Regions from separate parts of the Homo sapiens genome. Here region 2 is linked to region 1. The links are contacts of gene promoters, found by promoter capture Hi-C in blood cells and fetal thymus (Javierre and others, 2016). All regions are on one chromosome and are shown on one strand. The core of a region is centred on a gene start or on the middle of the fragment in contact, and the rest is flanking DNA. Distances in the headings are between cores, read along the strand shown.

Region 1 (3,269 bases), core at 766-3,265:
AAACCTTTCCCTGTTTCTTCTTCAGCCTTATTCCAGCTACAGGACATTTGTTTGTATTTTTCACAAGTTCTTGGTCAAATTAAATATAAAGCCATAGGACTCCTTGGCCAATTATATGTGGATTATGACTTTTAAGCTAAAGGGGTTTCAAGGTACCTAGTAATGCAATATCCTTCCTTGTGTCTGATTAAGTTCTGGAGCCAGATATGTATTTCCACACATATGAAGCTGGCATAAGGCAAGATTCCAGCGGTAGCCAGGCTATAGGGAGCTTTGCCTTGGGAAACACTGGGTTTAGCCATGGATTTGTAGAGAAAGGAGAGGTGCATACCAACCTCCTTCCTTCTTTTTGACCTGCCCCACCTCCTCTTCCAGGCCCCTCTGGCAGATGTAATTTGGTGTCACCTCTAGAATTCTGTCATTTTTACAACTTTAGTTTGACTGATACTGTGAAATGGTTTCTCTGTAACCATAAAGAGGCATACCAGCTTCTAAGATATCAAGAGGCAGAGAGCAGAATACGATTCAACATGTTATTTACCTTGATAATATCCCTGTGAAATCAAGTTACACAGGTATAATTGTACCTACTCTTACCAATGGGGAAGCAGAGAGAGAGGTTAGGTATGGCATAAGAAAGGATGAAACAGGAATTTAACTATTCTTCCTCCAGGTGAACTGCTTCATCTACCATGCTTTCTTTCACCATCACAAAATATAGTGCTCAAAAAACACATAATGATGAATCCTGTGTGGAAGTCACAAACCACCCCTTCATGAACCAAAAAACCCATGATCAATTATTCTCAACTATTTCTCATGTTGAGAGAAATATACACAAATAATACTAAAGCAGAAGAAAAATAAGAAACTCACTAAAAATGAAATTAGAAAATATATAGCAGCCATTAGCAGGCAAGAATACCTTCAAAACATCCCAGAACTGAAAAATTAAAAAAGAATATATACATCCACCGTCTTTAAATTTTATCTCTAATTAATTGTCAGGGTAAGTGATTCTGTATTGAGGAGGAACCTTAAACAACTGAGACTTGCAAATAGTGCAAACTAGGTCCCATGGTGCCTCTTCACAGCTTATTTGTATCATAGCACATGGAGGAGTAGTTTCTATTGAGAGTATAAAATCGTTAACTAATTGCACACCTGTCATTGTGGCCAACAGAAGAGTACTCTGACATTCCCTGTGTCCACCTGCTCCAAGAAACATTTTTTCCCAGGAAGGGATTCTGATTCCTACCTGTGTAAGTAACTTAGAAACTCTGAATTCAATATATTAGGACTTGGTTAATAATTCACAGACTTACATTAAGATGTTAAATAGATAAAATCATTTTGCCTATCAAATAGTTATACCAAGATGTGTAAACACTTTGTGTTATCATCATAAAATGTGCAGCATTTAAAGCTAAAATAGAGCAATTTTCTACTCTTTTAATTATTAATATTTGCATGCTGAATTCTTCTCTTGGGAAGAGTTGGCATGTAGCTAAAAATCTTAATCTGCTAACTTTATTGTCAATGTATGTAATTCTTAAAGAGAGAAGCTAGAAGTTACACTTTTTCCAAGGAATAATTTATTAACAAGAATTAATTGGTCACTTGGTTCAGATCTTTGCTTTAAATTTCACTTTACATTTGACAAAAAATACCTTATCAAAACGTAAGAGACATTCTCTATTATTTAATACTACCTATGGATATAATCAAGCTTTCTTTGAGGAAACATTCAGCTTACATCCTTCTTTTCTTTCTTTAAGAATACTACCTACACTAGTTTTAAAGTGCCTAGTCATATAAACTAGAGCTAGCAGAAGTAACTCTCATGAAACCTTGAATACTATGCTGCATTTGATTTTCAGGGCACATTTGATTCAGTACCCAGGGGCACTGTACTATGTTCCAAACTGTACTTTAGTTTCTTCCTCTTCGTTTCACTCTGTGATTATTTAGCAGACATATTTTTTTTTTTTTTTTTTTTTTTTTTTTTTTTTTGCCCTCCAGTGGAGAAGGTGGCCAGTTCTCAGACAGAGGAAGAGTAGAAATCATAAATGAGAGCTGTCTTCATCCAAGGTGCTGAAGAGCACCCTGCGGCATTCTGCTACCAGGTGAATGGGTCTTGCCCCAGGACAGTACATACTCTGGGCATCCAGTTGGTCATCTACCTGGCCTGTGCAGCAGGCATGCTGATTATCGTGCTAGGGAATGTATTTGTGGCATTTGCTGTGTCCTACTTCAAAGCGCTTCACACGCCCACCAACTTCCTGCTGCTCTCCCTGGCCCTGGCTGACATGTTTCTGGGTCTGCTGGTGCTGCCCCTCAGCACCATTCGCTCAGTGGAGAGCTGCTGGTTCTTCGGGGACTTCCTCTGCCGCCTGCACACCTACCTGGACACCCTCTTCTGCCTCACCTCCATCTTCCATCTCTGTTTCATTTCCATTGACCGCCACTGTGCCATCTGTGACCCCCTGCTCTATCCCTCCAAGTTCACAGTGAGGGTGGCTCTCAGGTACATCCTGGCAGGATGGGGGGTGCCCGCAGCATACACTTCGTTATTCCTCTACACAGATGTGGTAGAGACAAGGCTCAGCCAGTGGCTGGAAGAGATGCCTTGTGTGGGCAGTTGCCAGCTGCTGCTCAATAAATTTTGGGGCTGGTTAAACTTCCCTTTGTTCTTTGTCCCCTGCCTCATTATGATCAGCTTGTATGTGAAGATCTTTGTGGTTGCTACCAGACAGGCTCAGCAGATTACCACATTGAGCAAAAGCCTGGCTGGGGCTGCCAAGCATGAGAGAAAAGCTGCCAAGACCCTGGGCATTGCTGTGGGCATATACCTCTTGTGCTGGCTGCCCTTCACCATAGACACGATGGTCGACAGCCTCCTTCACTTTATCACACCCCCACTGGTCTTTGACATCTTTATCTGGTTTGCTTACTTCAACTCAGCCTGCAACCCCATCATCTATGTCTTTTCCTACCAGTGGTTTCGGAAGGCACTGAAACTCACACTGAGCCAGAAGGTCTTCTCACCGCAGACACGCACTGTTGATTTGTACCAAGAATGATTCCTTCTACTAAATGCAGGCAAGGAGTAGGACCTCACAGGAAAGATAAGTGGCACTGTGACCGTGGGCTGTGTGGTGTTGAGTTTGTGGGCATGCTTCCAGGACAGCATGGGTTAAGTAGAAGAGAAAGACAAGCTCCTTAACTTGGAAAGGGATAAAGCACTCCCCACATTCAATGTTTTATAT
Region 2 (3,269 bases), core at 238-2,737, 170 kb before region 1:
CCCCATTCTTAACAAAACATTTATCTCAGTAAGAAGGAAAGCACAGAATAAACTTTGTTTAATCGTACCTACTCTTCTATGCTGTCTAAAAGCATTTCCGTGACTTTTACCAAAGGGCTGGATAAAAATAAAACAAATCCTTTATTTGGCAGGATTGGGCCTGGGGAAGGGAGAATATGAATGTCCTAAGAAGGCATCTGAGATCACATCCTGTATTTGTTGTTATTATTGTTTTTTTTTTTTTTTTTTTTTTTGAGACGGAGTTTCGCTCTGTCGCCCAGCCTGGAGCGCAATGGTGTGATCTCAGCTCACTGCAGCCTCTGCCTCCTGGGTTCCAGCGATTCTCCTGCCTCAGCCTCCCGAGTAGCTGGGATTACAGGCGCCCACCACCACGACCAGCTACTTTTTGTGTTTTTGGTAGAGATGGGGGGTTCCACTATGTTGGCCAGGCTGGTCTTGAACTCCTGACCTCAGGTGATCTGCCTGCCTCGGCCTCCCAAAGTGCTAGGATTACAGGCATGAGCCACTGCACCTGGCCTGTTAGCATTGTTTTTAAACTCATTGTTGTTATTTGCTGCTAACAAAAATGTAAGTTACATCTTCTCCTTATTACAACACAGATGATCTTTATCACCAATCCTGGACTCTTCCCCTTCCCTGGCATCTTCCTCCAAAGCAGGGGGTGGGGAGGGAGGAAAAAGAAGGAGGAGAAGGAGTAGGAGGAGAAGGAGAAGTAGGGGGAGGATGGGGAGGGAAGGGTGAAAGAGAGAAAGAAGGAAAGAAGCGGAGTATCCTGAGGCCTGGGGCCCCTGAGCTGAGATTCCTCCTCTGGCCTAGGTGCCTCGGGGTATTGTTGCTGTAGGCACTAACTATACAGCAGTGAACAAACCAGACACAAAATCCTGCTTTTCTGGAGCACATGTTTTCAGTCCTTAATAGCAATAAGTAAGTCAGAGTGTAGATTTGGGTAAATTTTGTTATCAATATTGTCCTGTGTTACATTTTCTTAGTAGTAAGTATTTAATATTTTCCCCCCCGTCTAAAAATAAACACAATGTAAGTGACTCAACAGAACCAAAAAAATTGTTGTCAATTTTTAAATTTAATAAATGAGATATTTGTTGGGATGTGATTTTTTTACACGAGAGTTAGTTATGAGTTTCTATTAACAAAAGCTGGAATTGTTCTATATTTGAATTCGGGTGTCTTTTGGAAATTCAATATTAAATCTTAGTACTAATAGTACATGCTGTTCAATCCCTGTAATACTTTCTGATTGTCTTAAATGGACTGCAACTTTTCTTTCTTTAAAAGTGGTCAGATATATTGCGTTCTTAAGATTATAAAGTAGGCCAAGTGCAGTGGCTCACGCCTGTAATCCCAGCACTTTGAGAGGCTGAGGTGGATGGATCACAAGATCAGGAGTTTGAGACCAGCCTGGCCAATATTGTGAAACCCCATCTCTACTAAAAATACAAAAATTAGCTGGACGTGGTGGCGCGCACCTGTAGTCCTAGCTGTTTCAGAGACTGAAGAAGGACAATCGCTTGAACCTGGGAGGTGGAAGTTGTAGTGAGCTGAGCTTGCGCCACTGCATTCCAGCCTGGGTGACAGAGCAAACTCCGCCTCAAAAAAAAAAAAAAAAAAAAAAAAGAAGAAGAAGAAGAAGAAGAAGAAGAAGAAGAAGAAGAAAAATGATGATAAAGTAAAAGGCCAGTAACTGGCAGCCACATGTTATGCAAACATTCTCCCCTCTGTAAATACTACATGAATGTTATTTTTGCTTTCAGAAATCACTAAACCTTGGCCATGGTCACTTCCTCTTTTCCAATCTCTGTGGCAGTTTTTGCCCTAATAACCCTGCAGGTTGGTACTCAGGACAGTTTTATAGCTGCAGTGTATGAACATGCTGTCATTTTGCCAAATAAAACAGAAACACCAGTTTCTCAGGAGGATGCCTTGAATCTCATGAACGAGAATATAGACATTCTGGAGACAGCGATCAAGCAGGCAGCTGAGCAGGTATTCTCTTATTTCTGTTAATCATAATGTACACGAGGGGCATGGGAGCTGGTGGAAGACGAGAGAGCTGAATTGTCTGTGTTGTACATGGAAAAATCATTTTTATTTTGCTTGTTTTGAACAGGGTGCTCGAATCATTGTGACTCCAGAAGATGCACTTTATGGATGGAAATTTACCAGGGAAACTGTTTTCCCTTATCTGGAGGATATCCCAGACCCTCAGGTGAACTGGATTCCGTGTCAAGACCCCCACAGGTATTTTAACTATCTTAGTCTTTTGTGCAAAAGTAACTCTCTAAAATGCGCACGTTCACCAAAGCAAAATGATTGCTCTTGAATTACCATATATGTGGTATATGTTATGGTTATATTTATCTCAACATTTGTCAGATTTTAAAAAATTGTACTTAGATACTATTTAACAATCTTTTGTGATTGAAAATCTTTATTAAATTTTGAGAAAATGTGTAAATAGGGTATTCCTGCAAGAAAAACTAAGGGAAGAGATCTCATAGATACAAGTAGTAACTTAATTTCTGAAGTAGACAGTGGATTGTGTTAGGAATACATTCCAAAGCCTCTGCTGAAGGGACACCCTTTCAATGTTATAGAGTCTCTCCATTCCAGAGTTGCTTCTTAGGCAGAAAGACTTCACCATGTATTTTCAAGTGAATCATAAGACCTTATGCTTTGAAACTGCATTTTCCTAGGCTCACAAATCTAATTTTCCTGGGAAAAGGTTATCTAGAAACCTTCTAATATATATTAAAAATCTGGGTCCTACTGTCATCCTGGAGGTGTCAACGTGGCAGTTGCATGGACAAGTCTGGCATGAAAAGACAAAATTATATCTGGAGATAGAAAATCAAATGTCAGCATATAGATGGTGTTAAACACCATGATGAGTTCACCTGTGGAGTGAGTTAGAGAAGAGTTTAGGTATAAGGCTTGAGCACTAGGAAATTCTAGTGTTTAGACTCGGAAGAAAACGAGGAATCAGCAGAAGAGTCGAAGAAGAGCAACCAATAAATAGGAAAATGAGAGGGTGGGTCCAATAGAGAAGTGAGGTGTTTCCAGAAGGAGGTGTAATTAACTGTGCCAACTGCTGTTGAAAAGTTAAGATGAGATCAGGTAAAATGTGGGGGTCACTGCTGGCATTAGTAAGAGTTTGGGTGATAGAGATACAAGTTGGAGTGCTCTGAAAGGGAATGGGAGAGGAGGAACTGGCAACAGCAAGAGGGACTGAT

Evidence for each region. The method cuts DNA at HindIII sites, captures the fragments that hold promoters and counts their contacts. A CHiCAGO score of 5 or more calls a contact.
Region 2: a contact is called between a fragment that was not itself captured here and the fragment with the promoter of TAAR5 in region 1, in 1 of 17 cell types (monocytes). The highest score is 5.9, in monocytes.

Annotation. Positions count from the first base shown.
Region 1 is chr6:132,588,487-132,591,755 of GRCh38, reverse strand. It overlaps TAAR5 (trace amine associated receptor 5), which reads left to right and starts at 2,015. Exons shown (of 1, transcript NM_003967.3): 1 at 2,015-3,164. The coding sequence starts at 2,070. The coding sequence ends at 3,083. The HindIII fragment of the contact is 5,426 bases long and covers 1,732-3,269 here.
Region 2 is chr6:132,756,424-132,759,692 of GRCh38, reverse strand. It overlaps VNN2 (vanin 2), which reads left to right and starts at 1,789. Exons shown (of 7, transcript NM_004665.6): 1 at 1,789-2,022; 2 at 2,147-2,277. The coding sequence starts at 1,810. The HindIII fragment of the contact is 9,752 bases long and covers 1-3,269 here.